2 separate regions of the Homo sapiens genome follow, and region 1 is linked to region 2. The links are contacts of gene promoters, found by promoter capture Hi-C in human tissues and cell types (Jung and others, 2019). All regions are on one chromosome and are shown on one strand. Each heading gives the region's core, a stretch centred on a gene start or on the middle of the fragment in contact. The rest is flanking DNA. Distances are from core to core; before and after follow the strand shown.

Region 1 (5,151 bases), core at 1,415-3,914, 450 kb after region 2:
CAAAGTGCTGGGATTACAGGCATGAGCCACCACGCCTGGCCAATACATTTGTCTGGTTTTTAATGCCACAAAATTTTTCCAAGTACCTAATTTAAGGAAAATTAAAAAGAAAAATTAGTACTTCTAAAATCTCGAATGAAGTATTATTTTATAACCAGACTTTGTTAGGTAAATCATGTGAAAATACATTCTTTGAGATCTACAAAAATTCTTACAGGCCATCAAGCTATTCACAATATGTATTTCAAATATTATATTATATCAATTTAAAAGTTGAAATAAAAGCAGACTCACCTGAGCTCCAATTGCACTCGTTAACTTAAAGATATACAAAACTATGTCTAAAAATGGCTGTAAAATAAATATTAGAATACACAGAATTAAAACTAAAGCACTAGAATGATAGCTAATACAACATGTTAACTATAAAATGTCATTAAACATTTAATATATAATTATCAACATGTAGAGGTCCCACTATGTACAATGTACTGTGATAGTAAGTAGATCAAAGAATACATGAAAGATAACAGTTTTCCTCTCAAGAAACTTAAAATGGGAACAGCTTACACAATGTCTACTGACCATCAAGTAGGAAAAACATTTATCACTTTCCATCAACTAAGATACCTCTACTGTGATAATTAACCACTAGTAACTCAGTAATGTGTCAATATAATGTAAAGACACTGAATAAAATGACCTGAGATGTAACCCCAAATCTGCTACCAGTTTGTTTCTACATATCTTCACCTGTAAAGTGAGGAGCTTTTCCTGCTCCAATATTGTTTGACTCTATTACTTTATCACTTCCATGGCAAAATAATCAAGTAAGCCATTGAATCTAATTTTGTGATATAAAACTCAAGTCTCTAGAACCAAAATAACACATTAATGTACTGCTCTTTACACACAGAGACAACTCAACTAATGCACCATCAGCTGCATTAGTTTGAAATGTTTTTCAAGAAACACAAATTGTGTTCATTCACTTTAAGTCAACAGCCACTGCTTGCACCTCCACTTTTTTTTTTGAGACAGGGTCTGGCTCTGTCACCCAGGCTGGAGATCTTGGCTCACTGCAGCCTCTGGAGTAGCTGGGAGTACAGGCGCACATTACCATGCCTGGGTAATTTTTGTATTTTTTGTAGATGGGGTTTCACCATGTTGCCCAGGATAGTCTTGAACTCCTGGGCTCAAGCGATCTGCCCACCTTGGCCTCCCAAAGTATTGTGATTGCAGGGATGAGCCACTATGCCCGGCCAACAGCCAGCACTTTCTAATCCACATTATTACTAGGATAGATGGCTTGGTTTGTTAACTGGCTTGTTTCAACATCTACCTTTCCCTTTCCTTTTTTTTTTTTTTTTTTTTTTTTTTTTGCCTTATAAGTTATCAAGAAGCTAGAGATACTTATAAAATTCAAGAACTGTTAAAACTTATGACAAAAATAATGACTCATAATTTAAGTTGGAGGTCAATTAGATGTTTAAAACATCTAACTTACACACTGGTGTACAGCCCCACTACAAGTACTTAATTTAATATTCTTCTGTATTCCAGATTTGACAAAACCTGAGACTTGCTCAAGTGCCAAGATTTAAAGAATACATAATAATGTCTATAAAATTACATGGAAAGTTGTATAGATACACCCCCCATTCCCACCATGCATGCATGCATACACACACACATACACACACAGAGACAGAGAGAGAGAGAAAGAGAGAGAACAAACTTTCAAATGTGGTAATGGGAACAGAAAAGAAAGCTTAATTACTGAACTATTTGTAGTTGTCAGAGTTCCCGAGTTTGGGATCAGTTAGCAAAGGCTTCTGGAGAGCTAAATAAATAACAAAGTTGGGCTGGAAGTGAAAAGCATTGGGCCTGGGCATGAGGAGAGCAGCTCTTGTGGATATATATCTCTAAGAATTGCCTTCCCTCCATCCATCTGGTTGAAGCAAGAACATTCCTATTCTTACAATGTGACCCAGTCCTTTTTATAGTTTTGGTTTTCTTTTGTCTCAAAACTGTATATCTAGGTCAACTGTGACCAGAGGCAAAGATACTATCATTGGTCCAGTATGAGACAAGCTCCTAGCCAACACCAAGGGAAGTCACATGAGTTAGAGTGGGAACTGAAGCATCTCAGATGAAGAGGGGAGGGGATGCTGGGCAGACTATTTTATAGGTGCCTACTACATATCATAGTCAATGCAAGAGGTAATGGCAAAGAAGAGGGTTTAATAAGAAGACTACAGCAAAAGCTGTAAGGGTGGTGAGATAACATGACTAAGATAAGAACTGGAGAAATCAGTGAGAAGAAGGAAAACTGACTAAGGCCTATCACAGTCAGGAGCTTTGGCAATATTCTGAGGAGAATGGGAAAAACAGTAATTAGAAAACTGAAATATACTTGCATCTTGTGAAATTTTTTGACTACTACTTACTAATGATCTATTAGAATTAAAGATACTGAAGCAGAGAAATGGGCAGAAAGGAAGTCCTAGTCTAGTGTTATAAGTGTGGAGTTAGAAACATAAATTGACAGTCAATCTCTAACAATGGCCGGATGCACACAGGTCAAAAGATGAGAATTCAAATTTCTGTTGTTTTAATGGAATCAACCTGCAAAATTCTTAGAAAATCCTTATAAGACACTAAATTATCAGTTCTTTGCCAAAGTACCTCACAAAAATAATAGAAAAAATTAAAATAATTAAAACTATTACAACAACTCTAATTTTCTTATAAAAGCATTAAATATTTACATGCTGCTGTTATGTCCACAAAATCAATTCTATATAAATTTGCTTAGATTCAAAATTCAAAAAATTAAACAAATAATCTTTTAAAAAGGAGAGAAACTTACCTTACTAAGATTTGAATACAGATCGACTACACTGTTACAAAATTTTTCTACATCTTGTGTAAGCAGCTGGTCTGGATTAGCTATTCTGTTGTCCAGATTCCCCATTTTATAATATGTGAAAGCTCTAAAATAGCAAGAAGAAAAGTGATTTTAAAACAAGTGACTTTAAAGATAAAACAACAACAAAAAAATCATATTACACCACCTAGCTCAAATACATAGAAACAAAAAAGTTTGGAGCCAGAAGAGATCCTATTGATTGCCCTAACTGATTTTTAGAGAGGAGGACACAAGTCCAGAAAATGATGACTTGTCAATTAATGGAAGAGCCAGGACTAGATTCCAAATAACTGAAAGGTTGTTCCCAACATGCTTCTGTACCTAAGAGTGGTTTTCTTAGAAAACATACAATAAATAAGAAAAACTGCTATATTGATCAGCTTCATAAATACTCTTCTATTTAAATATTTTTAATATAAAAATAGGTTATCACTTACTGAAGATACTCCTCATAGAGGTATTTAGTGAGCCTTACTCGGAAGCACAGTTTAAGCTCATTTAACCCATACTTCAAGAAGTTATTAACCAGAGAGATCTAAAACAAACAAACAAATATTATTGGTTTTGCTTTTCATTTCTGCTTACTAAACTATAATTTATTTCTCTATTATTTCCTGTGTCCCAAATCCTACAATTTTTATAATTTAGTCCAAATTTATATAATTCAGTTCTGTTTTACTTTACTGCATTTAGCTAAACCAAATGTACCTCGTTTGAATTATTCTATGTTAAAGTTTACATGGAATATGTTAATATCACTAATTACGCGACATACCTTGCCCATTTTTTTTGGTAAACGGGCAAAAAGTCAAATATATCCCCTTTCTAGCCAATGTAAAGACTTGCTTTTAGGAGTTCAGACATTTATATTTTCTGTTTCCTACTATCAGCACTACAACCCTAGACAACGGAATTCTATATACACTATATTTGCATTTGTTAAAAAAAAAAAACACTACAGGTTTTACACCAACTAATGCTATTTTCCAGATTATTTCTAGAGCCATCTTTACTAACATTTTCCATCGTTACATTACAAATTTTCTCAAGTGGTCTTTGCTGAATCTTAATCTTTGATATCTATGTTGCTTATTCCAATTGTTTATTTTAAAAAGTCTAAAAGCTATGTAGCCCCAGCTTCCAGCTTTATTAAACAAGAATTTCTGGCAATTTCAACATAACTGGATTTTACAACCAAGCTTCTCATTTTTACCCACAAATTCAGAATATTACATTCTTACAGCGCCAAGAAAATTAAAATGAGAACCAACCTAAGAAAATCACTTATATTTTAGACTAAACAATTTATCTGTAAAAAATTCAGACCATAAATTCCAATTTAACTTAAAGTAAATTAGTAGTTCAAGTTACTGTAATAGTTTATGGCCTAAAGTAACCAGGATGATTTGCATTCCCCCCTCTAAATCCCCCCAACTCCCCAAGTTGCCCCCTGCCCATACCCATTTTGCAATGACTGGAATCATTTCTGGTTGTTAGAACTAGGAGAAGGGTGCTACTGCTATCTAATGGTCATTGATGATGCTAAACACTGAAGAAAACCTGGACTGAAGGTTAAAAAAAAAATGCCAAAAAACCCCTCACCCACATACATATGTATATGAATATATATACACATTATAAATGAAATTAAACCAAACATAATCCCTTTTTTATCTAGTATGAAGGTTTACATTGAAAATTATATTATAAATTACAAAACTAAACTGAAAATAGGAACTTAGTATCATAAGTCTTTAAAGAATTTAATAAGTAAAACCCTTAAAGATTTTAATAAGATGCAAATTTCCCGTGTTAAAAAGATTTTTAATGAATTAAACTTACAAGAGGCATGGCAGCGATGAAGTTGAGTAAGTATCTCTTGAAATCTTTCCTGCTACGACCAATGATACCACTGCAAACCACCACATGCAATGCATTAGTTGCAAAAGAAGCAAAATCTAACACTAGGAAAACTTCTGTAAAGCTCTAAAATTACTCTTGGAAACTTCTATTAAATCAAAACAATCAATAAAAAAGATGCTAAAAACCACTTTTTTGCAAAAACATGTTTGCAACTTTAAAATGTCATCATTTTGAACTTGCTGGAACCTCATCCTGCAAATGGCAAAATTAAACAGAATGATAACTAATTATTTCTTAGTAAAAATGGCTGCTTTAAAAAAAGGCTTAAGTGGCTACAAAAGAAACTAAGCTAGCAT
Region 2 (5,323 bases), core at 1,201-3,700:
AACTTTCACTCCTGCTCTAAAACGTGCCTTGGCCTCTCCCTCTGCCTTATGCCTCTCGGTAGAATTCTTTCTTTGGAGGAGGCAAGAATTGAGGTTGCTGCAGACCCATACAGATTTGCTGCTGCTAACACACTTTGGTGCATGAGACTCAGATACATTCCCTAGTGCTAACAACAGCATTACGTATTCTTACACAATGAGTTAAATTAGAAACGAAGGAAGTCTCTGGAGTACTGATGGAATCCAAGAGGACCAACAATATTTAAATAGTAAGTTCCAGTGGCAATGTCAGAAAGAACTTCAAGTACCTTAGGGAGGATAACAGTTGATCAAACAAACAAATGTAGAAAATTTCATGTTTACTTTAAAGTCACGTAAGTGTACAATGGCATTAAGTACATTTACAATGTTGTGTGACCACTGTCACTACCCATCTTCAAAACTTTTTCATCATCCAAAACTGAAATCCTGCACTCCTTAAAAAATAACTCCCCCTAAACAATAAAATTCATGGTTTTCAAGACAAAATACAATTCTTGAACATTTTACAATAAGCTAAAGTAGATTAAAATGACTTTGAGCATACAACAGGAGCAGTCAGGCTTAGATTGCTGCAAAAAGGCTTTGCAGGCTGGACACCATGATTTGTACCTCAAATCTGGCTGCTATTTCCCACACTCCTAGGTCCCAAAGAAATGTGGGTGAGGTCCTGCGGTTGACACACCGTCACTGTCATACTACTGGAAAAACAGCCCAAACTGTTAGCCTCAATGATATTGGGTCAATTGTGTCATCTTCGTGTGGGAAGAATGCCCTAATTATCATTACTCCCTTTGGACAAAATTAGCAAGTCATTTATAAATCATTTCACTTTCCTCCCTATTTGCCTCCTCCCGCTTCCTTCAGGTTCCATCCCTCAAAGTCATTGGGAAAAGCCTTGCAAACTGGATAGCAGTTTTGTGCATTTCCGGTTCAAGCTGCCTTACTCACTTTTTTTTTTTAATTTAAAAAAACTTTGGATTTTTTGTAGAGACAGGATCTTGCTATGTTGCCCAGGATGTTCCTGAACTCCAGGCCTCAAGCAATCCTCCCACCTCGGTCTCCCAAAGTGCTAGGATTACAGGCATGAGCCACCACACCTGGTTCACCTTACTCACTTCTATTCCAGGACGGTTCAACTATGATGTTTTGGCTCCTCTTCTCAAGCAGCTTTCCACACCTGGTTCCATGATCTCTTCTGGCACAGTAGCTGGTATTTGGCAAACATAGGTTTCATCCTGGGATCTCAGGGATTGAAATCTGTCCTAGGTGTGCACCAGAAAGTGGTGGCAAGAGATGAAGCTTCGGAGGAGGCTGACCTCGGCCAGGATTCTTAAGTCTCAAAGTTTCAGCTTTCTCACCCCTCAACGGACATGAAATCTACCTATTTGTAACTCCAGGGAAGTAAATGAGATAATGTTTGGAAGATATCTAGTCTACCAGCTGCTCAGGCGGGGGGCGAAGGTTCTGTTCCCTGTCCCTTCTCTATCAAATGGCTTTAAAATCAGAAGAAAGTATTACGGGTAGGAAATGGGACTGCGAAAAAAATGGAGGCTGATTCTGGCCTAAAGGATACTTATCTCTATACAAAGGGCTTCTGATTCAAAGAGGCCCCGGGATTCAAAAACACAAGCAGAGCTACACCACGTGGGGTTTGGGACGAGCTGAATTCCGGATAAAGATGCCTGTAAAGAGGAGTTGATGCGAATCCAGAAAAGCACTTGAAATGCCCAGGCTTTGCATGGCACATTCCCCAGGATTTTTTCGCACCGCATTTAGAGGTTTAGACGGAGTGAGCTCGAATCAGGCCAAAAGCCTTAGGTTACTCCTGGGCGGCAGCGGGGCAGAGGTCAGATCAACAGGTGTGGAAGGCTGCGAGGTGAGGGAAGAAGCAGGTGTCGGTGGAGGCCCCAGTTCCTCCGGCCCAGAGGCTCCAACGCTGCTATTGGTGTTCCAGCAGCGGGCGGAGGGGTCCTGCCCGGCATCTGGGCGCGCTGGGCCCAGAGCCCGGGAGGAGGCAGACGGAGGCGGCGGGTCAGCGGCGGGCCAGCCCCGGTGGGCTTCCGCTCCCCTCCGCCGGCCCGGTCCGGCCCGCCGCGGAGGATGCCTGGAGGTTGACGTGAATGGCCTGTGGCTGGGAAGCCCCCAGGCGCCCTGCCTAGCCCGGGGGCGGGGCCGCCTAGCCGCCGGCCCCGGTGGCGTGAGGGCTGGGGCGGGGGCCGGGGACCTCGCGGGGAGGGAGCGGGAGGGAAAGCGGCCCCCGCGGCCCTTCAATTGGCCGCACCGCCCCTCGGCGCAGAGGCGGGAGGAGGCGGCCCTCCATTGGTCGGGCCCGGCGGCCAATCCTCGAAGGCCCAGGCGGAGGCGGGGGCGGCCTGTGGGGAACCGAGGTGCGGGCGGCGAGCGAGGCAGCCGGGTGCTTCGCAGCGGAGCTCGAGGCTCTGTAGCACCCAGTTGGACCCAGTCGCCCAGGCACCGCCCGCGCCCCGCGGCCGTCTCCTGCGCCTCCCAGAGGAGGGAGTTCGAGCATCCCCCGCGGCGGCCACTCCTCGGGGCCAGGAGCGGGGAAGCGAAGTGCGAGAGACCCCGGACCCCAGCGCTGTCTCTTCCCGCCGCCCGAACCACCATGACCCACTTCAACAAGGGCCCTTCCTATGGGCTCTCGGCCGAAGTCAAGAACAAGGTACGCCTGGCTCGGGCGGGCGCGGGGGCCCCCGGGGCACCCTTGGGCTGGCCTGGCGCTGGGCCGTGCTTCGTTTGCTCTTCGCGCTGTGGCTCACCGTTTTCCTGGAGAGGGGCCGTCGAGGCGGCGCGAGCGTCTCTGCCTGTCCCGGTCGCGTCCAGTCCCCGGGCTTGCGGGGCCGGCTCCCGGGCACCCGCCTGGCTTTGTTCCCGCGCCGTGGGACAGGACTAGTGGCTGGCGGTGGGTTCCCGGGCGCCTGGAGTCCCGCGGCGCCAGCCTTTCCGGCTGCGGGGGTCTCGGGGGCCGTTTGGTGACTGCAGAACGCGCCCTCCGGGAAGGGGGCGCTCCTGCGTGGCCACTCGCCCTTAGGCGGAGCCCGTCTGCGCGGCCAGGGACCCGGCGAGCCGCTGCCGCAGCCCCCGCCATCTGCCCGGGCCCCGGGTGCTGGCGGACTCCGCGCCTCCCCACGGGGAGAGAGACCGCCTAATGTCCCGCCGACCCCAGGGGCCCCGAGGAACGGAAGCCGGTCCGGGACCCATCACAGTCTCCGATCTCGGTGCCTGGGAGGCATTTGGAGGCAGATTGCTGCTGCTGCTTCTGCTGTTGCTTTTGCGGGAAATGGAGACAAAGCCTGAGCGCGCCACTGTGCGAGTGATATCTGCTTAGGCTTGAGACTTTTTATGAAACACTGAGAAGTTTGAAGTACATTAGACTTTCACGACATAAAGGATTATTTTTGTGGGTTGCTTTTGTTTGGGGCTTGTTTGCTGAGGCGGCTTATAGTTTGGAGCGATTGGGATTTGGTGACGCTCAGCTTTGCCACTGAGCCCAAGAATGCGTTAGGTTTATCTTTAGGACTTTTGGCCTGGGAAAGAGATGAGAGGCGTCCCCCTCCCCAAATCCTCTCCTTCCTTCCTCCCTCCCTGCATTCCAAGCCCATGACATCAGGGGTTTCTGGGGGGAGAGACCAGCCAATCGGCGCGGAACTGTGCACAGAACGCTCATTGTCTCCTTTCTGCTGTTCTGGCCAAAGCGCCACAAAGGAGGGCTGCCTGTGGTTTAATTCCCATTAACCTCCCGGGAGCCCAAGCATGTCAGGATTGCCACCGCACCGTCCGACCGCTGGTGGAAGGCACTGGCATTGTCAGAGCTGGAACATCCCGGGGCTGCGGGGGTAGGCGGTGTGAAGCGAATTATGTAAAGAGGTAATGAAGCGCACCGTTGTCAAACCCCAAGGGAGAGTTGTGGCTCTTGTCTCCCGCTGTTAGTCTGCACATCATACTGTCTTTGAAGCAAGGAGTTGATTTTAGTCTATGTATCTAAAGTTGAAATGTTTAGGTCCTTTACCTTTTCAAACGTGTTGCCCGTATTAGACAACAGTTTGCTAACAATTTTTTTAGAGAGCAGAAAGGTGAATGGTTTGTGTATGATTGAGTGCAAACCTCACCAACTGAAAAGTTTGTAACAAGTTACTGTTTCCTTCCTTCCAGGATTTACAAACCGAACTTTAGGAAACTTCAGAGGAATGGGCATGTCCAAAATGTTGGATGTGATGTGATACTTTGGCCTGGTTGTGCACATTCATTGTAATTCCCCCCAGTGATTCTTGGCTGGCAGCAGTTGAGTCTCTACTACCTTTTGCATTGTAAATGAGGTACTGATAACGTTGGCAGCCCTTCAAGTGACTTACTTTTCTTGGATGTTAATAATATCCATGCTAATTTCTTTTTTGCTGACTAATGTAGCAGCTTTTGCCCTTTTCCTGCTTAATACTGAGCAGATCCAAGGAAATGCATACACAGGCTAGATCACTGTAATTATTGTAAATATTTAAAAACGGTAAAACCTCAGTTTTTAGAACCTTTGGAAAGTTAGTTATGAAAGCTGTGGATTTATCCCTTTAAGCACCAAACCCATTTTTTAATAACCCGTTTCATTTTTGTAGTCCTTTCAGACAGTATTCTTTCATAGGAAGTCTTTTGATCTTAACAGCAGAGCAGTCCTGTAAGGTGAGGAGGATTGCTGGGATTATCCAACATCATTTACAGATCAGTACACTGAAGCTCAGAAAGATTTGCTCAAGGTCACAGAAGTTGGACTATTCTAAGAATTTTAACTCTAAAAGCGATGTCTTAGTTGAGTGAAGTACTTAGGGATGTTCTACACAAACTCTGCTGTCTGTCGCCTTCCCCCCATTTTTTTTTCTTTCTTTTTTGAGACGGAGTCTTGCTCTGTCGCCCAGGCTGGAGTGCAGTGGCGCGATCTCAGCTCACTGCAACCTTCGCCTCCCAGGTTCAAGTGATTCTCCTGCCTCAGCGCCCCGAGTAGCTGGGATTACAGGTGCCTGCCACCATGCCCGGCTAATGTTTGTATTATTTAGTAGAGACAGGGTTTTGCCATGTTGGCCAGGCTGGTCTCCAACTCCTGACCTCAGGTGATTCCCCCTGCCTTGGCCTTCCAAAATGCTGGGATTACAGGCGTGAGCCATGGCGCCCAGCCCTTCCTCCCATTTTTGCTACCCACCTGTCACTTCTTGACATTGTGATTATTTATGTCATACTGTTTCTGATCTGTTCTGGGCCTGGGAATCAAATAGCCATG

What was found. The method cuts DNA at HindIII sites, captures the fragments that hold promoters and counts their contacts. A contact is called where the count stands out against the background at its distance.
Region 1: a contact is called between a fragment that was not itself captured here and the fragment with the promoter of CNN3 in region 2, in 1 of the 25 tissues and cell types used here (hippocampus).

What each region holds. Positions count from the first base shown.
Region 1 is chr1:94,473,459-94,478,609 of GRCh38, reverse strand. It overlaps ABCD3 (ATP binding cassette subfamily D member 3), which reads right to left. Exons shown (of 23, transcript NM_002858.4): 5 at 4,775-4,844; 6 at 3,370-3,467; 7 at 2,873-2,996; 8 at 295-351. Among named protein-coding and RNA genes, the nearest start is that of ABCD3, 58 kb to the right of the region's middle. The HindIII fragment of the contact is 6,153 bases long and covers 1-5,151 here.
Region 2 is chr1:94,924,237-94,929,559 of GRCh38, reverse strand. CNN3 (calponin 3) reads left to right here and starts at 2,450. Exons shown (of 7, transcript NM_001839.5): 1 at 2,450-2,722. The coding sequence starts at 2,666. CNN3-DT (CNN3 divergent transcript) reads right to left here and starts at 3,200. Exons shown (of 3, transcript NR_168377.1): 1 at 2,820-3,200. RefSeq lists silencers at 1,933-2,812, 2,913-3,342. The HindIII fragment of the contact is 8,752 bases long and covers 1-5,323 here.